7 separate regions of the Homo sapiens genome follow, and all the other regions are linked to region 6. The links are contacts of gene promoters, found by promoter capture Hi-C in blood cells and fetal thymus (Javierre and others, 2016). All regions are on one chromosome and are shown on one strand. The core of a region is centred on a gene start or on the middle of the fragment in contact, and the rest is flanking DNA. Distances in the headings are between cores, read along the strand shown. Region 1 holds the start of CMBL (carboxymethylenebutenolidase homolog). Region 2 overlaps ATPSCKMT (ATP synthase c subunit lysine N-methyltransferase). Region 3 has its middle 77 kb from the start of CTD-2154B17.1. Region 4 has its middle 50 kb from the start of CTD-2154B17.1. Region 5 overlaps CCT5 (chaperonin containing TCP1 subunit 5). Region 6 holds the start of ANKRD33B (ankyrin repeat domain 33B). Region 7 has its middle 28 kb from the start of ATPSCKMT.

The links. Contacts are between HindIII fragments. The CHiCAGO score rates a contact against its expected background, and 5 or more counts as called.
Region 1: a contact is called between the fragment with the promoter of CMBL here and the fragment with the promoter of ANKRD33B in region 6, in 1 of 17 cell types (neutrophils). The highest score is 5.2, in neutrophils.
Region 2: a fragment that was not itself captured here is called in contact with the fragment with the promoter of ANKRD33B in region 6 in 3 of 17 cell types (neutrophils, activated CD4 T cells and total B cells); the score reaches 9.4 in neutrophils.
Region 3: a contact is called between a fragment that was not itself captured here and the fragment with the promoter of ANKRD33B in region 6, in 2 of 17 cell types (neutrophils and monocytes). The highest score is 5.5, in neutrophils.
Region 4: a contact is called between a fragment that was not itself captured here and the fragment with the promoter of ANKRD33B in region 6, in 1 of 17 cell types (neutrophils). The highest score is 5.6, in neutrophils.
Region 5: a contact is called between a fragment that was not itself captured here and the fragment with the promoter of ANKRD33B in region 6, in 2 of 17 cell types (neutrophils and naive CD8 T cells). The highest score is 11.5, in neutrophils.
Region 7: a fragment that was not itself captured here is called in contact with the fragment with the promoter of ANKRD33B in region 6 in 1 of 17 cell types (neutrophils); the score reaches 7.3 in neutrophils.

Annotation. Positions count from the first base shown.
Region 1 is chr5:10,306,207-10,309,896 of GRCh38, forward strand. It overlaps CMBL (carboxymethylenebutenolidase homolog), which reads right to left and starts at 1,696. Exons shown (of 6, transcript NM_138809.4): 1 at 1,419-1,696. RefSeq lists an enhancer at 974-1,474. The HindIII fragment of the contact is 4,286 bases long and covers 282-3,690 here.
Region 2 is chr5:10,240,239-10,243,919 of GRCh38, forward strand. The region is part of intron 1 of ATPSCKMT (ATP synthase c subunit lysine N-methyltransferase); the gene reads right to left. Among named protein-coding and RNA genes, the nearest start is that of ATPSCKMT, 7.8 kb to the right of the region's middle. The HindIII fragment of the contact is 1,443 bases long and covers 1,450-2,892 here.
Region 3 is chr5:10,861,713-10,865,493 of GRCh38, forward strand. No RefSeq gene overlaps it. Among named protein-coding and RNA genes, the nearest start is that of CTD-2154B17.1, 77 kb to the left of the region's middle. The HindIII fragment of the contact is 7,130 bases long and covers 1-3,781 here.
Region 4 is chr5:10,835,344-10,838,960 of GRCh38, forward strand. No RefSeq gene overlaps it. Among named protein-coding and RNA genes, the nearest start is that of CTD-2154B17.1, 50 kb to the left of the region's middle. The HindIII fragment of the contact is 1,577 bases long and covers 1,093-2,669 here.
Region 5 is chr5:10,260,605-10,263,914 of GRCh38, forward strand. CCT5 (chaperonin containing TCP1 subunit 5) reads left to right here. Exons shown (of 11, transcript NM_012073.5): 7 at 188-307; 8 at 956-1,141; 9 at 1,877-2,014; 10 at 2,530-2,710. Among named protein-coding and RNA genes, the nearest start is that of CCT5, 12 kb to the left of the region's middle. The HindIII fragment of the contact is 8,542 bases long and covers 1-3,310 here.
Region 6 is chr5:10,562,195-10,565,488 of GRCh38, forward strand. It overlaps ANKRD33B (ankyrin repeat domain 33B), which reads left to right and starts at 1,876. Exons shown (of 4, transcript NM_001164440.2): 1 at 1,876-2,639. The coding sequence starts at 2,274. RefSeq lists silencers at 1,460-2,319, 2,660-2,709 and enhancers at 1,939-2,833, 2,834-3,294, 2,850-3,059. The HindIII fragment of the contact is 7,834 bases long and covers 1-3,294 here.
Region 7 is chr5:10,219,653-10,223,321 of GRCh38, forward strand. No RefSeq gene overlaps it. Among named protein-coding and RNA genes, the nearest start is that of ATPSCKMT, 28 kb to the right of the region's middle. The HindIII fragment of the contact is 9,924 bases long and covers 1-3,669 here.

The DNA of each region.
Region 1 (3,690 bases), core at 446-2,945, 260 kb before region 6:
ACTCACAAGTCAGACTTCCAGGCACAACGCAGTTCTCCAACAGAAATAGAGAAAACAGATTTTGACAAGCAAAAGGGACTGGTGCAGTTGGGATTATAACAAGCAGGGAAGTCTAGGAATACATCTCCAGCCTCCTGGGAGAGCCTGAGCCCGGAGGGGGCAGAGAGGAGGAGGAGGGAGGTCTGGGGGAAGAGAGGTCTGCAAAGTAGGGGAAGGGAAGGCCAGGAGGGAGGGAGGCGCAGCGGGGAGGAGAGGAGAGAAGGGAGGAATACATTTCTGGAAGCTTTAGAAATTTAGAAATAGAAACCACGTGGAAGTGCATCCAGGGCTCAGGGTTACAGAGGACCCCAAGACAACACAGGAAAGTGGGGTCTAATGGGAAAGGCAGGAGGTTTCTCCTTTACTGCTTAAACATTGTAGGAACTTGCATGGCAAGTGATTTTCAATCTTGCAGCAGGGAAGGCAGGGCCAGTACTTATCCTTAGATGATTCTACAAACATCAAACTTCTCCAAATATTTATTTTTCAGCAGCCATGCTTGTATTTTCCAAGTGTCTATGGTCGAGATAGCATGAATTAGGAAGCTACCTGGATGAGCCCACAATGGCCCTCTTAGACATGCCAACGACGCCCCTGCAGAATCTGCTTTTTCTCTGGCTGTTCCTAGGCCTGGATAGGGTTCCCAGGCCTGGACAGGATTCCCCGGATACCGGCGAGGCTCATTACTAACCACTTTATTTTAAATGGGCTTTGAAAACAACAGGTGGCATCTTCCATCAGCAAGTGGACATAAATCTCAGTGCCCAGTGTTTCCAAGGCCTGCCCGACCCACATGGCTGTGGGGTGTAAACTGTCCAGTCGTTCCTGGCACACCTACCCAGCATTTAGGATGTCCCACTCTTAGATCCATAGACCCAGCACCTCTCTTCTTAATACCCACCCTAAAGAAAAGCTGTCGAATGTGGATGCTGATTTAGTTGCAAATATGCTCAGTTTTTTAATAGTTTTATATTAGTAAAAACGCTACAACCAGAATGTCTCACTGCAGGAAGAGAGTTACAAGGAGTATTTAACGGCATGGTGGAAAGGCTCCTCCGTGCTAAATGGCCAAAACGAACGCAAGTTTGCATACGGTGTGATTTCCACTATGTCTTTAAAATGCATGGCGAAACACCTACAGGAAAATACCAAAATGTAAACAGCGGCTGCTTCGGACGCATGGGATCGTGGAGGCTGCTGTTCTGCAAGGACAACGTATCACTTTTATGAAAGTCAGCTTCTGAAAACGGACTATGGGAAGTTCCTTACCCGTGCACGCGGCAAAGACCTTCTTTGCCATAGTCAGAACACACGCGGGAGTTCAGAGGAGCGGGGCCCGGGCTTGTGTGGGCTTGTGTGCCCCGGGGACGCGCACGTACCTTGTCCCGCGGCCTGAGACTGCGCTGCACCGCGCGGAGGCCGAACCCAGAGGAGGCGGCGTGGCGCCGGGCGGGGACGCGAGAGGGACGTGGACGCGGCGACCGAGGACGCGGGGATCCTGCGGGACCAGTGGCTCCAGTCGTAGCCTCCTGGGAGAGCCAAGCCCGGAGGGGGCGGAGAGGTGGAGGAGGGAGGCCTGGGGGAAGAGAAATCTGCAAAGTCGGGGAAGGGAAGGAAGGCCAGGAGGGAGGGAGGCGCAGTGGGGAGGAGACGAGAGAAGGGAGGGAGGGAAGTGTGAGGGGAGGGGAAGAAGTGGGGTGGTCGGAGGGTGGGGTAGGGAGGAAGAGGGAGGGAGAGATGGGAGAGGCTCCAAGATAAAGAAAGGTGCAGGGAGAGGGGGTGGGAGGGAGGGAACCGCAGAGAGGAAGGGAGAAGAGAATCAGGCAGCCTTGAGGGAGGAGGCAGGGAGGCCAGGAGAAGGAAGACAGCCAGCCTTCTGTGAGATTTACGTGCGTGCCTGGCTTCCAAGACAAGTAACTTCTGTTGTAAATACAAATTAAGCTATTTTTTGTTTATTTTATTTTATTTTATTTTATTTTATTTTATTTTATTTTAGAGATAGGGTCTTATTCTGTCACCCAGGCTGGAGTGCAGTGACACAATCATAGATCACTGGAGCCTCGAACTCCTGGCTTCAAGTGATCCTCCCCTTCAGCCTCCCAAAGTGCTGGGATTACAGGTGTGAGCCACCATGCCCAGCCACAATTTTTTTTTTTTTTTTTTTTTTTTTTGAGATGGAGTCTAACCCTGTTGCCGAGGCTGGAGTGCAGTGGCACGATCTCAACCTCAACCTCACTGCAACCTCCACCTCCCGGATTCAAGTGATTCTCCTGCCTCAGCTTCCCCAGTAGCTGGGATTATAGGCACGCGCCACCACGCCCAGCTAATTTTTGTGTTTTCAATAGAGACGGAGTTTTACCGTGTTGGCCAGGCTGGTCTCGAACTCCTGACCTCAAGTGTTCCACCTGCTTCGGCCTCCCAAACTGCCGAGATTACAGGCGTGAGCCGCCGCACCCGGCCCCAGCCCCAAATTAAGCCTTTTTTTAAAAAAGAAATTAATACACGTTTCATACTTGCCTCCTTCGTATTTTCTCTGGTCATCTGCCCAAGGTTATGACAACAGCTTCAACTTGGCTGCAGAAGCACACCCCTGTGGCTCACTCAAACTGGAAACATACAGGAAAAGGGAATTCTAGGAATATAGCTCAGCCTGGACAAATGGGCACATTAAAAAGCCATTGCACCGTGGTGGCCGCACTTCCTGCCATCCCCACTGCAAAGGTGTTGTTATGGACTGAATGTTTGTGTCCCCTCCAAAATTTGTACGTTGAAATCCTAACCACCCCGCCCATGGTGGTATTTGGAGGCGGGGCCTTTGGGAGATGCTTAGGTCATGAGGGTGGAGCCCCCAAGAATGGGATTTGTGCCGTTACAAAAAGAGGCAAGGGAGCTTGCTTCCTCATCTGTATGCCAGGAAGAGGATACTCACCAAGAACCCAATCCTGCTGGCCCATCCCAGACTTCCAACTTCCAGAACTATAAGAAATAAATGTTGTTTAAGCTACCCAAGTCTATCTATGATGTTTTTGTTGTTGTTGTTGCTGTTGCTGTTTTTGAGACAGAGTCTCGCTGTGTCGCCCAGGCTGGAGTGCAGTGGTCCCATCTCGGCTCTCTGCAACCTCCGCCTCTCGGGTTCAAGCAATTCTCCTGCCTCAGCCTCCTGAGTAGCTGAGACTACAGACATGTACCACCATGCCCAGCTACTTTTTGTATTTTTAGTGGAGATGGGGTTTCACCATGTTGGTAAGGATGGTCTCAAACACCTGACTTCAGGTGATTCACTGGCCTCGGCCTCCCAAAGTGCTGGGATTACAGGCATGAGCCACCTCGCCCAGCCTGGTGTTTTTGTTATAGCAGCCCAAACGGACTAAAACAGTGTTTTCCTTCTAGAGATACACTAATTTTCTTTCAGACAGGATCTTTCAAAACCCAGTCTGAAACATCTGCAGTTGAATTATTTTATGGGCTTGGAATTTCTCTAAAATAGTGGTTAGGGATTTTTTAAACATCAGAATAATTTAAAAAGTTACCAAAGTGTTATTACCCAGAACAAATTCAGGGTCAGCGCCAAAGAAAAAAATTTATTTACTTTTTTTGAGACAGGGTCTCACTCTGTCACCCAGACTGGAGAGCAGTGGAATGATCACAGCT
Region 2 (3,681 bases), core at 921-3,420, 320 kb before region 6:
AAAAAAAAAGAATAAAAAATAAGATCATCATTTTAGTACTATCATAAACATAAAATAACGCAGACCCCAATCACTGATTACAAAGAAATGAATGGTACCTTAAATATCCTTTTGAGATTTGTCCTTTAAAATGCATTTAAATGGGATCTCAAGATTTTGAAATTAATATTGACAAAATTGATTTTAAAATTGATTAACAAGGAGCACAGTACAGGAGGTAAAAGCAGGACTCCTCCAGAGCCAGCCAAAGTTAGGATCCCAGCTCTGCCACCTCACTAATGATGGGACCCTGAATCCCTGGTCCTTGCTGAGCCTGTTTTCTCATCTGCAAAGTGGGGGTCACAGGGATATTGTGAGGATGAAATGAGTGTATGGAGGTAAAGCACTTAGAACAGGGTCGAATGCAGTTATAGGTTTCCTATAACTGCTGTAAGAAATTGTCACAAAATTAGTGGCTTAAAATAACACCATTTATGGCCAGGCGCAGTGGCTCACACCTGTAATCCCAGCACTTTGGGAGGCCACGGCGGGCAGATCACCAGAGGTTGAGAGTTTGAGACCAGCCTGACCAACATGGAGAAACCCCATCTCTACTAAAAACACAAAATTAGCCGGGCGTGGTGGTGCATGCTTGTAGTCCCCAGCTACTAGGGAGGCTGAGGCAGGAGAATCGCTTGAACCCGGGAGGCAGAGCTTGCAGTGAGCCGAGATCACACCATTGCATTCCAGCCTGGGCAACAAGAGTGAAACTCCATGTCAAAAAAAAAAAAAAAGAAAAGAAAATCACCATTTATTATCATACAGTTCTGGAGGTCAGTCTGAAATGAATTGGCAGGCCTGCGTTCCTTCTGGGGGCCCTCGGGCAGGTTTTCTTGTCTCTTCCTGCTTCCAGAGGCTGCCCACATTCCTAGGCTCTTGACCCCACATCACTCCAATCTCTGCTTCTGTCCTGACATCACCTTCTCTCACATGCCTGGCTCCCTCTTAATTTATAGGAACCCTCATGATAACACTGGGCCCACATAAATAATCCAAAATAATCTCCCATCTCAAGACCACTGATTACATCTGTACAGGTGCAGGAATTAGAATGTGGACATTCCTGGAGAGGACATTTTTCTTCCCACCACACCCATGAACTACGGCAATCTATTCTAGTGCAGTACAAATTTGAACCCAAGACACACAGAAAGCTGGCACACAGCAGTGGGTCACCCTCAGGGCAGCCAGCCAATCGCCAGCATCCCCCACTCAGCGCAGCTTTGTTCTTGATTCCTGAAGCCCCTTAAAATGAGTTGTAAAACTGATTTCACAGTGGAAAACGAACTGGGTCGGCGGAGGGGGCGGTGGGAGGAAGAATGCTACTAATGCTAGTGCTAGTATTAATGCTAGTGATGGGGGTAAAGAAAATTAACTTTAAGAAGGTGATGGCATTTGATAGAAAGCAAAAGCTTTAAATAATTTCAGTTATAATTTTGGCATTTTACGGAGGAACTTACAGGCATACCTTGGAAATATTTAGTTCCAGACCACTGCAATAAAGTGAGTATTGCAATAAAGCAAGTTACACAAATATTTTTGGTTTCCCACTGTATATAAAAGTTATGTTTACACTATACTGGAGTCTATTAAGTGTGCAATTGCACTGTTCAAAAAACAATGTATGTACCTTAATTTTAAAATCCTTTATTGCTTGACATTTTGGTCTGATTTATCTTCGAAAAATTTTTTTTAATTTTTAAAAAAGAGTTTATTGCTAAGAAATGCTAATGATCATCTGAGCCTTCAGTGAGTCATAATCTTTTCACTGGTGTAGGATCTGGCCTTGACGTTAATGGTTGCTCAATGATGAGGGTGGTGGTTGCCGAAGGTTGGGGTCGTTGCGGCAATTTTTGAAAATAAGACAACAATGAAGTTTGCTGTATTGATAGACTCTTCCCTTCATGAAAGATTGCTCTGCGGCATGTGATGCTGTTTGATAGCATTTTACCCACAGTGGAACTTCTTCCAAATTTGGAGTCAATTTTCTCAAACTCTGCCACTACTTTATCAACTAAGTTTATAAAATATTCTAAGTTCTTTGTCATCATTTCAACAATGTTTACAGCATCCTCACCAGTAGTAGATTCCATCTCAAGAAACAACCTCCCTTGCTCATCCATAAAAAGCAACTCCTCATCCACTGATATTTTATCATGGGGTTGCAGCAACTCAGTCTCATCTTCAGGCTCCACTTCTAACTCTCTTGCTATTTCCACCACATCTGCAGTTACTTCCTCCACTTAGGTCTCAAAGTCATCCATGAGGATTGAAATCAACTTCTTCCAAACTCCTATTAATGTTGATACTCTGACCTCCTACCATGAATCATGAATGTTATTAATGGCATCTAGAATGGTGAATCCTTTCCTGAAGGTTTTGAATTGACTTTGCCCAGATCCATCAGTGTAATCACTATCTATTGCATCTCTAGCCTTACGAAATGTATTTCTTAAATAACAAGACTTAAAAGTCAAAATTACCCCCTTGATCCTTGGGCTACAAAATGAATGCTGTGTTGACAGGCATGAAAACAACATTCATGTCCTTGTACACCGCCACCAGAGCAATTGAGTAGTAACTAGGTGCATTATCAATGAGCAGTAATATTTTGAAAGGAATCCTTTTTCTGATCAGTAGGTTTCAACAGTGGGCTTAAAATATTCAAAAATCATGCTGTAAAGAAAGGTGCTGTCATCCAGGCTGTGTTGTTCCATTTATACAGCAAGGCAGAGTAGATTTAGCATCATTCCTAAGGACTCTGTGATTTTCAGAATGGCCAGTAAGCATTGGCTTCAACTTAAAGTCACCAGCTGCACTGACCCCTAACAAGAGAGTCAGCTTATTCTTTGAAGCTTTGAAACCAGGCATTGATTTCTCTCTAGCTTCCAATAGAAGGTTGTTTCATCCATATTGAAAATCTGCTGGCCAGGCACAGTGGCTCGCGCCTGTAATCTCAACACTTTGGGAGGCTGAGGTGGGCGGATCACAAGGTCAGGAGTTCAAGACCAGTCTGACCAACATGGTGAAGCCCAGTCTCTACTAAAAATACAAAAATTAGCCAGGCGTGGTGGCACGCCCCTGTAATCCCAGCTACTCGGGAGGCTGAGGCAGGAGAATCATTTGAACCCGGGAGGCAGAGGTTGCAGTGATCAGGCCACTGCACTCTAGCCTGGATGACAGAGCGAGACTCCGTCTCAAAAGAAAAAAAAAAAAGAAAATCTGTTTAGTGCAGCAACCCTCATCAACAATCTTAGCTAGATCTTCTAGATAACTTGCTGCGGCTTCTCCATCAGCACTTGCTGCTTCACCTTGCATTTTCATGCTCTGGAAATGGCTTATCTTTCCTTAAACCTAATGAACCTACCACTGCTAGCTTCAAACTTTTCTTCTGCACTCTCCTCACTTCTCTCAGCCTTCAGAGAACTGAAAAGAGTTAGGGCCTTGCTCTAGATTAGGCTTTGGCTTAAAGATATGATGTGGCTGGTTTGATTTTCTATCCAGACCACTCAAACTTGCTCCATACCAGCAATAAAGCTTTTTCACTTTCTTATCATTTGTGTGTTCACTGGAGTAGCACTTTTAATCTCCTTCAACAACTTTCTCTTTGCATTCACAACCTGGCTAACTGTTTGATGCCAG
Region 3 (3,781 bases), core at 991-3,490, 300 kb after region 6:
TCAAGGAAGGATTTCCTCATGGGTTTCACAGGCAGCACAGCCCTGCCATCACCTTGATCTTGGACTTCTAGGCTCCAGAACTGTGAGACAATACAGTTCGGTTGTTTTAAGTCACTGCATTGTTATGGCAGCCCCAGGAATATATACATAACTCAATGGCTGGAGGTACCTGAAAGGGAGACTGAGAAATGTCATTTTTCTGGCCCATTTTCACTGTAGGGAGGAATTAGAGGACAGTCCTGGGGATGGCAGTGCAGCCTCTGCTACAGATGCTCTGGAATGAGGCTTCAGTGGAAACTTCTCATCTCTTGAGCGCTTCTCCAAAGCACCTTTCCCCTGAAAAACAGGTGGGGATGGTAGATTTTACTGTGGTGCTCTTCCATTTGGAAAAGAGTTTAGTTTTTTCTTCTACTAATTTGTGATCTCTAGCTTCATTTCCAGACCTTCCTGATATCCACCCTGTTCCATAAAAGAAACATTGCTGACCTCATAATTCTTATGGCTTAAGTTCATGGCCCTCAGATGACTCTTGATGGTGTGGGTGGGAGACAGCTTCTGTCCCTGACTCTGGCAGCCAGCCTTGGCCACTGTCTTAGCTCCCTGTGGACAAGTCCAGACTACCTGAGGCCATTGACCTTCCTGCTATACCTCTTTTTCTCTTTGAGCATGTAATTCCTTTAAGGATTAAACCTTAGGAGATTTCCAAAATGTCGCTAAGCTCTGCACTCCTAAGTTGTGAGGACAGCCTCTGTAAGTAGGGCATCTAAGGTCATGGAGAGGACCTTTTTGCAGTTAATCTTGACTAAAATGGCAAATAGAATGTGATGTCATCAACCTGTTGACATGAAATTAAGGCTTTCTTCTGTTCTTCAGTCCCATTTTCTCTTTTAGGTGGCTGTCTCTGGTCCTGCATGTCTGATCTCCCGCTAATTCCTGTCCCACCACCTTCTCGTTCCAGTTTGCTGCCCTAGGACCCTCTTGGTTTCTGATTATTATGGCAAGTCCAAGGAGATGTAGAAATTCAAAGTGTGGTTGTTTGAATGAAGGCAGGAGTTGGATTACCCACATTAGAATGAGATCTGAGTGATACCTGCAAAGGAAAGTCTGCAGCTCCTAAGCTGTCCCTTCATTGCTCAGATTCATTGGAACATTTATTCTCTTTGATTCAATATGAAAAAATGATAATTTAGTGCTAACATGATACTCCAAATAACTGGGTACCAACCTGTTAGTTTTATGGAATTCTTCATGAGAGTAACGGTTGTTTGTTTTTGTTTTTTTTTGAGACAGTCTCGCTCTGTTGCCCAGGCGGAGTGCAGTGGCACGATCTCGGCTCACTGCAACCTCCACCACCCAGGTTCAAGTGATTCTTGTGCCGCAGCCTCCTGAGTAGCTGGGATTACAGGCGTGCATCACCATGCCTGGCTGATTTTTGCATTCTTAGTAGAGATTGGGTTTCACCCTGTTGGCCAGGCTGGTCTTGAACTCCTGGCCTCAAGGGATCCCCTACGTTGGCCTCCCAAAGTGCCTGGAATACAGGCCTGAGCCACTACGCCCAGCCATAACTTTTTTTTTTTTTTTTTTTTTTAACCCATAGGTTTTGCTGGTCTCAGGCATACTTATATGTCTTAGTCTGTTCAGGATGCTATAACAAAATATCATAGATGGGGTTGCTTTTAAGCAACAGAACTTTACTTCTTACAGTTTTAGAGGCTGAGAAAGTCCAAGATCAAAGCACTGGCAGGTTCAATGTCTGGCTAGGGCCTGTTTCCTGGTTTGTAGACGGTACCTTCTTTCTGCCTCCCACGTGTTCCACATGGCGGAAGGACTGAGGGATCGCTATCAATCCTCTTTCATAAGGGCATTAATCCCATTCATGAGGGCTCCCAATCACCTCCCAAAGTCCCCACCTTTTAATACCATTACCTTGGGGGTGAAGATTTCAGCATATTAATTTTGGGGGACACAAACATTTGGACCATAGCATTACATCCACCTTTTCTAAATGCATTAAAACTGGTAAGGGATATTAGCATGTCAGGACTCTTTCTTTCCAAAGCCATGTTGTTGTTTTCTTCCACTTTTCGAGGTTGTTGCAAACTGAATTGCTAGTGATTCTTCTCCCGAGCCCATCTCAGCAAAGAAAATAAATTTATCCATAAAACAACAACCCAGGCCACTGGGTCGGCCTCGTAGCAACCACCACGGGGGAAAGGAAGAACCCAGGGCTTCCTAAGGTAGTTCTCGGCATAACCACCAGGGGGCACTGCTAAAGTGCTGTCTCCTGGTCCTGGGCCTCCTAAGTTGGGGATGATGTGGTCTGCTGTGCAATGAGCATCTCGGTCACACCTTGAGTGCAATTAGATTAAAATGTGTCAATTATTGGCTGTGTTCCAGGTGTTTTTCTGTGTTATCTCATTTAATTCCATTATTTGCCTGTGTGGGAGGTATTTCGAATTTCACTTTACAGGTTGGCAACTAAAGTTTTTGCTCATGAGCTATCTCACATCCTAGGTGCTTGTAAGAGGTGAAACCAGTTTTTTGTTTTTGTTTTTGTTTTTGAGACGGAGTTTCGCTCTTTTACCCAGGTTGGAGTGAAGTGGCGTGATCTCGGCTCACTGCGATCTCCACCCCTCGGGGTCAAGTGATTCTCCTGCCTCGGCCTCCCAAGTAGCTGGGATTACAGGTGCCTGCTACCACGCCCAGCTATTTTTTTTTTTTTTTTTTTTTTGAGACGGACTCTTGCTCTGTCACCCAGGCTGGAGTGCAGTGGCGCAATCTTGGCTCACTGCAAGCTCCGCCTCCTGGGTTCACACTACTCTGCCTAAGCCTCCCGAGCAGCTGGGATTACAGGCGCCCGCCACCATGCTAGTTTTTTTTGTATTTTTAGTAGAAACAGGGTTTCACCGTGTTAACCAGGATGGTCTCGATCTCCTGACCTCGTGATCCACCCGCCTCGGCCTCCCAAAGTGCTGGGATTACAGGCGTGAGCCACCGTGCCTGGCCTAATTTTTGTATTTTTAGTAGAGACAGGATTTCGCCATGTTGGCCAGGCTGGTCTTGAACTCCTGACCTCAAGTGATCCACCAGCCTTGACCTCTCAAACTGTTAGGATTACAGGCATGAGCCACTGTGCCCAACTGAAACAAGTTTTTAAAGTCTCTAATTGTCCATCTACAAAGCTCTCAGTCTTAAGAACAAAATCTACAGGAAATTAGGGAAGGAGAGAAGCAGCATCTTGCTCTTTCTAGGCAAGAAGTTCCAGCTGTAAGACTGGATGCTGGGGACGGCTTCATTTCTTTCACTTGAGAAACTGAGGATTTCCACAGTGCAAACCTTGCTTAATGTGTATATCAGTCAGTCAGGAGAGGCTCAGCTGCTGTAACAGATACTCCCCAGAAACTAGGTGGCTTGAAGTAACAAAGGCTCATTCCTCACTCAGACTTCTTGACCACAGTGGCTTTCTAGGGAGTTTCTGCTCACCCTAGGTGTGCAGGTTCCTGGCCAATACAATGATGCTGGTCTGGGAATTTGCCAGTTGCTGTGCATGAGAGAAAAAGAGAAAAATTTAGGAGGGTCTTGAACTGGCAGCCACATGCTCCTGTCCAGAGGTGACGCTCATCACTTCTGTTTGCAATGTGTTGATCAGAACTAGTCACATGGCCCCACTTATGTCCTCGAGGGAGCCAGGAATTCTATCACATTCCCAGGAGCACTAAGGACTACTGATGACCACCACAGAGCCTCTATCAGGGCTGAATAATTACAATTTGGATTTTTT
Region 4 (3,617 bases), core at 631-3,130, 270 kb after region 6:
TAATTCATAGATACAACCTCTAACCAAGGATTTAACAGTTTAATGAACAAGAAACCATACATTAGTCCAAAATTTAACAGTTAATAGATAAGACTTCAACCTCCATTTCTAAGAGTGTGCACCAGCTGGGGATTCAGTTACATTTGTGAGCTGGTGACAGATTATGGCTTTTTCCATTTACGAAAGAAATCACTGTTTTTGCTGACTCTAGAAAAAATATAACTTTTAAAATATTGAAGAAATAGGCCAGGTGCAGTGGCTCATGCCTGTGATCCCAGCACTTCGGGAGGCCAAGGCAGGCGGATCACCTGAGGTTGGGAGTTCGAGACTAGCCTGACCAACATGGAGAAACCTCATCTCTACTAAAAATACAAAATTAGCCGGGCATGGTGGCACATGCCTGTAATGCCAGTTACTTGGGAGGCTGAGGCAGGAGAATCGCTTGAACCTGGGAGGTGAAGGTTGCAGTGAGCCGAGATCACTCCATTGCACTCCAGCCTGGGCAACAAGGGCGAAACACCATCTCAAAAAAAAAAAAAAAAAAAAATTGAAGAAATAATGTGTAAACTTTGCTTCATATTTATTTCCTCCAAGCCAACTAGTATCTCAAGACTTTTCATACTGGATATAGTTGTCTAAACACAGTATATTATCTTCCAAGTATTCAATTATACTTGATTAATTTGCCTGAAAAGTTTTTACTGTGAATGGCATTTGTGATTAATCTGACAATAATGATTGATATTAGCTTGTCTCTGACAGAGACAATGTTTGCTTCTTCCTTTCCAGGTTTGGAACTATGCTTGGTCGTTCCTAGTACTTGTGGAAAGAGGTAAGTGTTATATGATACCTTAGAAGTGAATATCCAAGTAACCAAGAAATATTCAATGATCATATTGTGCTGACCTGGGAGGAAATCCTAGTTTTTGCTTTTGATAAGAGCCTGTACTTTTCATGGTGGCATGAATTGTTCCAGAAAGACATAATGGTCCTTGCTAAGAAGCTTCTGAAACTTCTGAATTTTAGGGAATACCAACTGTGTGTCAAGTGTACTTAAAATATCTGATATGACACCTTTCTAAAATGAAATCAAGCTTTTATGAGTTGAATTGTGTCCCTGCCAAAAGTATGTTAAAGTCCTAACCCCCAGAACCTTAGAATGTGACCTTATTTGGAGATAGTGTCTTTTCAGATCAAGTTAAAATAAGTCGTTAGGGAGGGCCTTAATCCAGTATGACTGGTTTCTTTATAAAAAGGGGAAATTTAGACACAGAAATCAGGATGGTGTTTCTCTAGGCTAAGGAACACAAAGAGTTCCAGCAAACCACCCAAGACTAAGGGAGAGGCCTAGAACAGATTCTTCCTCACAGCCTCGGAAGGGACCAACCCTGCCAACGCTTTGATCTCGGACTTCTAGCTTCCAGAACTGTGAGCCAATTTCCATTGTTTAAGCCTCGCAGTTGTGGTGCTTTGTTATGGCAGCCCTAGCAAATGAACACCTAGGTCAACTACTTGAGCTCATGTATGCGGATGTGAGGTGTAATAGTTTCTCAGTGGCTGGGTTGCAACTAATATTAGTATACAATTTCCTCTGGGGAATTAAGTAGTGTTCTTTATATTTACTTAAGATGCTCTTTTTCTTATATTCCTACAAAGTAAAATTATTTTATTTTAAAGCGAATCATGTGGATATCCACATACGTAACTAATTAGCTATTCATTGACCATTGAAATATTAGTAATGATGATATCATTCTCCTTGGGGTAGGGAAGCTGAATGTTTTAGTCTGCTCCACATCTCCTTATCTGGGAAACATTCCTGAGCTACTGTCTAGTCCCTACTCTGTCCTTGTGGTATGGTTAAAACTATGTATTCTAGCTGGTCCCAGGGATAGCCAATAAAACTTATCCATGTCTCTGGTCACTGTAATTGGTTCAGCAATGAGAATATGACCCAAGGTAGACCAATCAGAGGGTTTCCCAGGCATTTTGCTGGCATGATCAGGAAAAATGTTATTTTTATCAATAATTAAAAGTCCTAAGGTCAGTGTAGACTTCTCTTTTAGGATGGGATCCTCACTGAAAATGATGGAGCCAAGCTGGGTCAGGAGGAATAGGGTCAGTCAGAATTCTTAATCCATGAATCAAACCCTTCCTGAAATCAGAAACATTCCTTGGACTTTCCACTTATACAAACCAATAACTTTTCTCTTGTGCTTTAAGCCACTTTGAGTTGGGCACTTACAAGGAAAAGTGTTTTAATGCATCTGTGATGTGTAATCTTTACTTATTTTTTGCCCCTTTACATCCTCTGAAAGCCTTGGATTATTCCAGTGTTTGGAGCACAGTACATTAAGAGTTGGTTGAATTTTTTATCCTACATTGTCAGAATAAAATTAATTTCCAAATTAAACAAAATGACACTGTGATGATTTTCCCTGTAATATGCAATGATGTCAAGCACTATTCACTATTGTCACTGTGGCAGGTGAGTTTTCCAGTGATGGCCACATGTGTAGTATGTACATATATCCCCTCATATGCTCTTATTTCAATGCAATTGTCTATCTTCCCACAGAGAAGTCATGTCTGTGTTTCTTCCCTATGAATGTGAGACTTGTGACTGCTCCAATCATGAGAAAATGGTGGAAGTGACAGTACGTGACCAAAGCTTAAAGGGTACAACCTCCCTTTATATGGACCTGGCCCTCTCTCAGATGTTTACCCTTGGAACCACTTGCAGCTCTGTGAGGACAAACAAGGAGAAGTCCACATGAAGAGGAGCTGGGCTCCTAGACTCCACTAGCATCACCTACCAGACAAGTGAGTGAACAAGCCTTCAGATCACTTCTGCCCCCAGTGTTCAAGGTCCTAGATATCGCGGAGCAGAGATGAGTCATGGTCACACCGCGTTATTTCAGTTTCTAAACCCCTGAATATATGAGCATAACAAATAGCTTTACATCACTGTTAGGGTAATTTTTATGCAGCCATCCTGAGATCATTCATTTGTAATGTGTTGTGCTGGCTAGACTGAACTACGTTTCTCAGAATTCCCTTATGTTTTGGTCAGGGCAGGCCTCAGGAGAGAGTCTTATGGGAGATTTGGAAGGTGGAAGTAAAGTGGCAGCTTTTTTGTATTTTTTAAGCTCACATGCATGGTTGCTGGCCCATTGGCTGGCTGGCATTAGGCAGCAACCTGACCGGCAGCCTGTAGCTCTCCTGCACTAGTGTGTGCTTAGCTCCCTGACAAAGGCCTAAACTTCTTCAGGACTCCTGCATCATAAACCTTAGAAGCAATAAAAACTGATATGTTATGAGATCCAGTTTGTCCTCTGGGTACCACCTTGCCCATGCCCCTCTTCTAGTTTATAACCATCTTCTCTTCCTGCTTGCCTGCCTTGTAGACCTCAAGCATCGTCATCAGACTCCAGGACAACAGCTTTGCAGATGCCACTTAACCAGCTCCTGCAACTATGTAAGGTCAAATCCCTGTTTATAGGAGAGAGAGGCAGAGGAACATGGCCAAACAGAAGCTCACTGATTGTCCTCCCTGTAGGAACACCAAATTGAACAACTATCCACACAGAAAGCACCTTTATAAGAACCAAAAAATC
Region 5 (3,310 bases), core at 1-2,500, 300 kb before region 6:
TCACTATTTAGAATTTGGAACTGACAGAAAAGTGGACACTTGTCTATTTCCTTCCTTCTCTTTCCTTTGCTTTTGTGTTTGAGTGCACCTGCCTTACACCCAACTGTGCCTCTCCTTTTTTCAAACATTGTAATGAAGAATAAATACCCACTTTCTCTTAATACGATTGTGGTGGTTCTTTTCCCAGATTAAAGAGACTGGTGCTAACCTAGCAATTTGTCAGTGGGGCTTTGATGATGAAGCAAATCACTTACTTCTTCAGAACAACTTGCCTGCGGTTCGCTGGGTAGGAGGACCTGAAATTGAGGTAGGATGTTCCACGTGAAGAGACTTTGAGAAGTAGGGGTTCATCTTATGTGTTGAGGGGTGTTTTGATAGCCCTGCCTTAAATAACTGCATCACACCAAGGCTGGCAGATGAGGGGAGGGTGAGCTGGGAGAGAGGAAAGCGCTGGAATCTTTGTTACTGTTTGGATAACAGTGCTGTGTGTTTCTGGTGTTCCCTGGCATTTTGAAATTCTCTCCCTGTGTTGTCTCACTTGGCCCTGTCGTTGACTTACTAAGGCTGGAAGACCTGGTCTCATCCAAATACTAATGGCAGTCCCAGGCAACGGTGCCTCGGTGGTTCTCACTGCAGCGCAGTGCAAGGAACATGCAGGCTGGGTTCCCAGAGTGAGGGAGGGCTGCACAGATGGGAGATGAGGGTATGAGCTTAGGGGACGGGCGCCGGGTGATAGATCTGGGCAGCACCAAAGCCCCAATCAAGACGTCCAGCTCAAGAGCCTTGTTACCTAGCAAGGTGCTTTGGGTTGAACTGGAGATGTCTCGGTCAAAGTGGGGCAGCAGTTCTAGTGAACAAGTTGGTCTTAGATCAAGTTTTGCTCATTTGTGGCCCAGTTTTGAAAGTTAACTTCACCAGTACTGTCTTCATCCTTCTCCCTGACCACCCCAATTAGCTGATTGCCATCGCAACAGGAGGGCGGATCGTCCCCAGGTTCTCAGAGCTCACAGCCGAGAAGCTGGGCTTTGCTGGTCTTGTACAGGAGATCTCATTTGGGACAACTAAGGATAAAATGCTGGTCATCGAGCAGTGTAAGAACTCCAGAGCTGTAACCATTTTTATTAGAGGAGGAAATAAGATGGTGAGAATTCAACTATTTGTCCTATACTGTTGCTTATTTTGCTTCATGGTCTGGCTTTTTTGCCTGTGTGTATTTAACAGAGACACAGTCACCATAAGAAAAATAATCGTGGTTCTCAAACAATGACGTATCATGGTGTAAAATTACTGAAGACCATGTTAAATTGTTAATTTCACAAGGCACATTTGCCTTTCTGCTGTCCCTTAGAGTATACAATATACACTATGAGATTTTTATATCTTTTTAAATACTTAAACACAGTTTAAATATTCAAGTCCTGGATTTTAGAATGTTTGATACAGTTACATTAGGGGTTGGTTAAACTGCTAGCCCTAGCAACATAAGACTCATTTTAATTACAATATGGTATTATTACCAAGGATGACTTACATCTGTCCCTTAGGTAGAAAAAGGGAACCCAAGTGAATAACCATTGACGATCTCTGTTCTTTGAGAATGAGTTTTTAGCACATTGTGATAAATCTTTGCGAGTTTTGTCAGTTTTTGACTCTTGCTTGACCGTGTATCCTAGAATGAGTCACTGGCCGCCTCTGCCTCTTGAATTTTGTTAACTACATTGCAGGAAGGAAAGCTAGAAAGATAAATATTATCCGATAGTGGAGGCCATCTAAATATTAGAGCACAGCCTCTCTGTCTTTAAAAAGGTGCCAGATACTTGGCTCTAAATTGACTAGATCTTGATCACATTAATTCAGGCAAAGCTGTTTTCCTTAGATCATTGAGGAGGCGAAACGATCCCTTCACGATGCTTTGTGTGTCATCCGGAACCTCATCCGCGATAATCGTGTGGTGTATGGAGGAGGGGCTGCTGAGATATCCTGTGCCCTGGCAGTTAGCCAAGAGGCGGATAAGGTAAGGGATCTGTGCAGACTTAGTGAAAGATTCAGGCCTCGCTGATGGTGGAGACTGTGAAGCTGCGGAACAGCGAGGTGCTGGATGCAAAACAAGCATCGTGAGCTGTGTGTAGGTGACAGGTGTTTTAATCTAAGTTAATTCCCACGTTCCTGTATTCAGATTCTGGTTACCATAACCTAGCATTTCTCAGCTGTTTTCAGCCAGTTCGTCCTTGAAATAATAAATCTATAGTCTTTTAATGTTATTTGAAATTCAAAATTAATATTATAACTTAAAAATAAAGCCATAAGAGCTGCTGTATTTTGAGACATCTCTCACATGTATGTATACCCTCTGCCTGTATTCTGTGGTGACATTATAATATTCTGATAGATACAAAAATAAAGACAGCCTGTTCTTACAATTCTTTGTGAGCTGACTTTTCAAAGTATGTGATACAGTTGTGTTTTCACGGTGCCGCTGGGTTGTTTTGTTTCGCCAAGTGCACTCACCATACTTCTGTACCTTTCCAGTGCCCCACCTTAGAACAGTATGCCATGAGAGCGTTTGCCGACGCACTGGAGGTCATCCCCATGGCCCTCTCTGAAAACAGTGGCATGAATCCCATCCAGACTATGACCGAAGTCCGAGCCAGACAGGTGAAGGAGATGAACCCTGCTCTTGGCATCGACTGTTTGCACAAGGGGACAAATGGTGAGGAGCTGTCACGCCTCTGCGTGGAGGGGGGGGGATGTCTGATTTAAACTGAATAATCATCCACTGTATGTGCTGTGAGATGATGGTGTCTTTTTAAATATGTAAGCCCACTTCAGGTGTTCAAGTCCTGAATTTTAGAATGTTTGATTGCCGTAGGAATTGGTTAGACTACTAGACCTAGCAACATGAGACTCATTGTAATAACAGTAAAGTGCATATGGTACTATCACCAAAGATGACTTAGGTTTTAATCTCTGGTTTTTGGGAAGTAATGCCTTATTGCTGTTTTTACACAGATGTCTGTCAGTGGGCAGCATATATATAACAGCTCTGAAGTGGGCTTTAGTTCACAGTTCACTGTGTGGTTAATCCTGCACACTGTGGAGTGTTTTCTAAATGTAATATATAACCTCTGTAGCCACTTGTGTAGCTCGGCTCCCAAAAAGATATGGTGGCTGTAGCTTGTTGAAACAGTGGTCTCAGGCATTTCTGTACTAAATCAGGCCATGTCTGTAATCCATCCACAGAATGACAGCTTTTGCTTAAAGGTATAGGTACATTCTGCTTTCCATGCTCAAATTCCAAGGGTTTCAATAG
Region 6 (3,294 bases), core at 626-3,125:
AAACGATAGTTCTTCTTTGAAGCAGACGATGACATTTTAGTTTATATTTAAGGGGAAACACATTCAAATGCTATTTGGACTCAAATTTCTAAGGAAGAAAAGGAAGTGGTAAACTCTGAAGATAGAACCTCAATTCCCTTGCTGAGTGACGCGGTCAATGAGCACCAATCGCCTACGGGAGGCCAGAAAAGGCTGCGTGGTGCTCCCCTCTCAGGGCCTGGCCCTGTCCACCTGGGCCTTGGTGACCCGCAGCCGGGACTCTTGCTGTAAAGTGACGCAGTGCTCTCCCTGGGAGGACAGTGGGTCCAGCAAACCCAACTCAGCCCTCAGGGGGCACTTGAAATTGTAACTACCCCAGGCCTTTGGAAACAACCCTCAACCTTGAAAGGGGAAATTCCCAGTGGGAATTGATGCAAACTGTGGTCAGTTACACAAAAAGGTAGAGTTTACTGTAATCTGGGGGCTATTTTTGGTTGCAGAAAGAATCCCCGGAGTAGAGAAGGAGGCCAGCGAGTCTCAGTTCGCTGCTCGCTCAGAGCCGCCCAGGTGCGAGGGCGTCTTCACCAGAAATCGGTGCTCCCGCGCGCCCCACCCTCCGGGGCCCTGCAGATGCCGGGTCGGGGGCCGCCAGCAGGCCCTTTGGCTCCTGCTGGAGACACTGGAAGACCAGGCGACCAGGACAGCGGGTCGGGCCAGTGCGGTGTGACACGAGGGCTCGAGCGGCTTCGCAGTTTAAACGTGTCCTCATCCTACACCTCCCACGGCTGTTTCGGATTCGGTGCCCTCGTGCCCCTCAGCTTGCCCAGCGGCACGTGGGCCTCAAGCCTGGTCCCCAGCGGCTGCGCCAGCCTAGCTGTGTTCACCTTGGGGCCGCGAGGGCCTCCCACCGGCTGGCAGCTGGTGGACACGCTGTCAAGATCGGGGGAAAAAAAGGAAGGAAGGAGGCTAGGGGGACACAGGGCTGGTGGCCTCCGCAGTCTTTGACCTGCGACGGGCGCGAGCGCACCTCCGCGCCTTTGCGCAGAGACCTTCCCCCAAGATTGGCTCACGACGCCTCCTACCCCGAAGTCAAGGGCTCCCTGTGGCAAATCCTCACACGCCCTCCTCCTCCCCGCCCATCCCCGGCGCCAGGACTGACGGGGAGAGGGCAAGGCCGGGCCAGAGGGGCTGTGGGCCTGGACTGCGGCTGTCGCCCGCGGCCCTGCTCTTTTGGGCAGCCAGACGTGGGGTCAGCGCCCAGTCGCAGCCTCCGGGGGTGAGTCCGCAGATCCCCGCACGTGACACAGGCCAGGCATGGGGACGGGGAGTTCCTCGTCGTCCGTTCCCACTCAGATGCTCCCTGAGGTTCCGGAACACCCCGCCCCCCATCCCAGGATCTGACCAACCCTCAAGCCACGGCCGGCCCCGGTTCCGCGAGACGGGGGACTCTGAGGATTGTCCTCCCTTCCGGGCTGGGACTCCCCCACAGCAGCCGACCGCCCCCAGTTCAGAGTGGCCCGGCCCGCAGCGCTCCCCGGGCACAGGTCCCAGGTGGACGGCTCCGCTCCCGCGCCCGGCTCCTCTGCCCGCCAAGCGCCCCGGGGATTCCCCGGCCTCCAAGCGGCCGCGGCCGGGTGGAGTCAGCCCCGAAGCCCGGGATCCCCCGAAGGGAGAAAACCCGCTCTGCTCCTCTGAAGCGGCGGGAGAAACCGGCCCCACCCAGGTCCGGGGGCCCGACGCCCTCGGCGGAGGCCGGCTCCAGGGGTCCGAGGTTCCCGAAGCTGGAGGCCGGCTCCGCCCCGGCGTCCCCCCGCCGCCACCTCCGCCCCCATCCCGCGGGCCGGCGGAGGGAGGGGCGGGGCCGCTTGCCGCCCGCGACTCGGGTTCGGCTTCTTTAGTGATTGCTTCTGCTTCTCCCGCGCCAGCTGTCCCCAGCTCTGGGGCAACGCTGCCAGGTGCCCAGTCCCCGCGCTCGAGAGAGCGCCTGCCTGGCTCTGAACTCTGGCCAGGAAGGGGCGCGAGGGGAAGGCCCCGGGGGAAGGCGTGTCCCCGCGCCCCGCCCCGCCCCGCCTCGGAAAGCCCCCGCGGTCCCGCCCACCCCAGGGGCTCGCTCAGCCTCCGGAGACTTTTTTCTTTGAGCGCAGCCGCCTGGTGCCGGTTTCCGCCGAGCTGGAGCGCGCGGGCCACGGCTTCTCTGGGGACGCAGAAGCGAGAAGCGGGGACCTCGGCGCGCGCCCCGCGTCCCGCTCTTCCTGCCCGCGCCCCGGCCCCCGGCCCGCGCCCCGGCCGCCGGCATGGTGCTGCTGGCCGGGACCGGGCCGGAGGGCGGCGGGGCGCGCTGCATGACCCCACCACCGCCGTCCCCACCCCGGGGCGCGCAGGTCGAGGAGGACCCCGCTGACTACGAAGAGTTTGAGGACTTCTCGAGTCTGCCAGACACCCGCAGCATCGCCTCGGACGACTCTTTCTACCCTTTCGAGGACGAGGAGGAGCACGGCGTCGAGAGCGCGGAGAGCGTCCCGGAGGGCGTCCCGGAAAGCGTCCCGGAGACGGCGACCCTCCTGCGCGCCGCCTGCGCCAACAACGTGGGGCTGCTGCGGACGCTGGTGCGGCGCGGGGTGAGCGTCGAGGAGGCGCAGGAGACTGACCGCAACGGCAGGGTAAGCGGGCGTCCCCGCAGGATTTGAGCCCCCTCACTGCCCCCACTCCCCTCCTCCCCACCACATCCCCGCGCCTCCCAGCTCCTGGCTCCGGACCGGTCCCTCGGTCACTCAGCCGCCGCCCAGAGCGCCTTTTCCCCGCTGTTTGGGAGCGCGGTGCCCTGGGTGGCTTCCCCGTCTCAGGCTGGGGGACGCGGTGCGGGGAGGGAGCAGTCGAGGTGTCAGCGCGGCAGAAACGCCAGTCCGGCGTCCTCACCGCATCCCCTTCTCGTTTACCGGTCCCCGTGGACCTCCTGACTGAATTCGCGCTGGCTGCCCGTGCTGCAATCCAGGATGGGCTTCTTGCGGCCCGGTCCCCTCCTGACTATTACCTTTCCCCAGGTCCCTGGCAGGGGACCATTCCTCCTCCCCTGCAGGAGACAGCCCCTCCTGCCCAGCGCCCCATTTGGCCCCTGGGCCCCTCGCGCCGCCCTTGTCCTAACACGCTGGGGCGCAGATCGGCTCCTCCAGCCGCAATGATTTGGAAGCAACAGTTTCTTCCCTCGCCGGGACAGCTTGGTCCCCTACCCCACCTCCGCTGAGCTTTGTGGCCCGCGCCGCGACCAGCCAACGTGATCTCTGACTGGTCTGTCCGCAGGTCACCTTCGCGAGCCAA
Region 7 (3,669 bases), core at 636-3,135, 340 kb before region 6:
GCTTAGTCTTATGCCTCAGGACGGTGGCCTGCTCCCTGGACTCAGAGAAAAGCCTGACTGTTATTCTCCCATCTCTCTCACAGCCATTGCCATTCCTCTGGCCTCAATCTCATGACCTTAATTCTATGTGTTCAATCTTTCTGTTCCCTAAATTCTCAACATGGAAGCTGACATCTCATCTCTTCCTGCCAGCCACTTTGCTGGCCAGCCTACAGCCTGGCCTGCTTTGGCTCAGAGGCCCAACACTGATCCCATCAGTTGGGGAAGGGCTGGAAAGGGGCAAGGTTTGGTCCTCATAAGGCTGCTCCCTTGGCAATGAAGCAGTGTCACTTAAAAGAGGATAAGACACCACTAGTGACATATTCCCACCAGGGGCTTCAAGAACAGTCCCTCAGTTCTAATTGGCATGGAGTAAGCATCACTGTGTTAGCTCCAGCTAAACCCTCTGGGATCTGACAGACGCCAACTTTCTCTTCTGAGCATCCACACTTCCTGGCTGGATTCTGATACAGTTTACCTTCATCCATCACCTTTGCCAATATTTTGGCTACTTTGTTAGGCAATACCAGAGTGAAAAATTGCCACAGCGCCCTAATGTCTGGGGGGATGCTAGGTTTAGATGGAGTTACGTGACACACTTTTATTGCCAAAGGCTGCTTTAGTGCCTCACAGATCTTCCGCGGAGGTCTGCCGAAAGGATTCAGGTGGCCCTGCTCAGACTGGAAAACTCCTCATCGTTCAGGGTAATTTTAGGACTCCATGCCTGCCTGTGGATGGATCCCTTCTACAACATCCCCACCAAGTGGCTGTCCAGCCTCCGCTCTGCATCTCCAGGCAGAAGGAACTACACCCACAGGCAACGCATTCTAACTTTTAATGACTTTGTTAAGACGGTACTTTGTACTGAGCTTAAATTTCATATCCCTTCAACATCCACCCAATGACCCTACTTTGCCCCCCAAAGCCAATCAGAACAGGTTTACTTCCAGGGGAGCAACTGAGTGTAATAAAGACCTGGTGCTCCTGTGTCTGGCTGTGATTCTGAGCAAGTTAACTACCCTTGATTTAAAAAAAAAAAGGAAGACAGGGCTATGTCCCTGCGGAGGAGAAGGGTATACAGTGCATGGAAACCCCTGGCACACAGTCGTGTCCACTACCTTCCTTTCATCTGCATGGCAGCCCTGCAGATATGTGAAAATATCTGCCTCCAAACATCCTCTCGTCCAGAGTAAACATTCACAGCCTCTTTAATTGTGCCGCCTAGGATATGTTTTCAAGGCATTGACCATCCGGAATGTATTTCTGTTGATCAGTGTGGCTTCTGTTCCTTTTTTCTATTTCTAGTTTTTTATGTCATCCATTCTAAACCATTATTAGTTTATGGACAGGCCATACCAAAGGCATCCCCCATTGTGAACCAGGAAGGGGAGGCTCAGAGGAGACCCCACCCAAGAAGACCCCCCCATGGAGGGATGGTGCCAAGTCTACCCCCAGTTGCCACCCACAGGGACAGTGGAACTTCTGGAGCCTGTTTAGCCAACCAGCTGGACTGTCATGCTAGAGGTATGGTTGGCCTCTTCCCGGCCATCCCACTGGAGAATCCTTTGGAAGTATGGCTCCCTCCACTTCCCATCCTAATGAGGGCTAAGGAGATGTTGACTAGAGCTGGGAGAAGTGTGGATAGTGCCAGTGCTCAGGACTGGGCGTGGCTCTTCTAAGTTACCAGCTCCTATACTTGGTAACCCTATCTGCCAAGAATGGCAGTCTGAAAGTGACCTTGGTTTCCCTAATTCCTTTTCTAATCCTGAGAAATAGTCTCCTCGCCTATAAAGCTCCCTGTGGTATGAGGACATGGCTGAGGCTATGCTGTGGCTTGCCCATACCCCTAAGAACAGGAAGACCTCCTGGGGTGACTGGTGTTCCTCAGGAGCCATCTGATCACCTGGGAAGTCTGGTCCAAATGCACGGCCCTCTTGACTTGGTAGAGTTCCCCCAGACACCACTCCTAGGAACTACTCTGTGAGTGGGGCTCCCTCCCCCGGGAAGTCTCCATCCTTCACATGCTCCAGACGCACCTTCCAGTCCTCTAGTCCTCTCTGGGTGGAGACAGTGGCCTCTCCATGCCTGCACTGCACACTGTCGGCTCCCCTTGCCCCAGGTCAGCCTTACAATCCTCCTTCCTCCTTCAGGATGATGTAGGGTGCAAATAACACAACATTCATGTAAAAGCAGCATAAAACATGGGCTTATTACTTCACATAACAAGACGTCTTGCAGTACGAGGCTCAGGGTCAATGCAGCAGCTCAGCAGCATACCCAAGACCCAGGGTCGTTCCGTCTGTCTGCTCCACCAGCCTCGGTATCTTGGCTTCCATCTTCACTTTTCCCCGCATGGTTACAGAGTGGCTGCTAAAGCTCCAGGCATTACCGTCCTACATAGCATGTCCAAAAACAGGAAGGATGCTTGCTCCTCATGTAACACCTTCTATTAGCAACAAAAGCCTTTCCCAAAGCTCCGAGCAGACTTCCCCTCAAATCTCATTGGCAGGAACCAGGTCACATGCCCACAGCCCACCCTAACACCCATGGCAAAGGGGAATGGAATTGGGTAATTGATAGGGCCTCTCTTCACTGAGCACATTGATCCTGACACCTGAGAAACGGAGGGCTCTGCTGGCAAGACAAAGAGGCGGGGGTAGGAGGCAGGCAGTGTCTGCACACTGCCTTCCCAGCCCCCTAGTGTCCCTGCTCCAGGACAGGCGAGCTGGGTCAGAGGCCTACAGATGTTACTGCACAGCCAGGTGAGAACAGCTCCATGGTCCAGATGACTTCAGGCATCTTAATGAAAGGCTGGTCACACTAAGGCACATAGGGCCCCAAGGGTACTTCTTGTTCTTCTGTTTGTTGACTTAAGCAGACTCCTGAAGTATGCACTGCAATGACTACAGTTTTTCCCAGAATGTGCTCAGCCAGTGATAAGCTATGAAATAAATGCAACAGCACAAGCTCAGAAGACTCCTGGACTTCAGAACACTTATTTCTTCACAGCCAGGTCTTTAACACCTTTGGCCACCAGAGAAAGTACTTTGGGAGGGGAATGGAATCCAGCTGCATGGCTTAAATGTCAAAAATCTTGCATTTCTTCTATTCTGTTGAGCTGTAATGTATGTTGTGCATACCATCTCCCAGCAATGATGAACACAGTGTATCTGGAAGAAAGTCTCATTTCTTAACTCTTTTGAACTTGCTCTCTCCTGCACTTAATGGAGCTAAGCATCTGAGGGAGTCTGAACACCAGAACTAACCGAGGGTCTGAGGAGCCACCTGAGACACCTGGGGAACACAGGGTTGCATTCCTGGGGGTCATGCTTTTGGAGGAAGATGCATTCAGATGGGAGATTGCTTAAGTCATCAGCCCAAGTGTTCATGGAAACCCCCATGTCTGTTTATCACAGGTCCTGTTAGGCTACATCACCCCTAAACTATACTTCTTTTGTTTTCAATCTTATCGAGTTAGCATTGGCCCCTGATTTCAATCTGTACCTGCATTTATAAATCCTATTTTTGACAGCCAACACAGTAGCTCTCATTCCCTGATTCATGTCACGTACAAATTTGATCGATGTCCTTAACCTAATAACTGATAAAAATTTAAATCAGAGAAGCCAC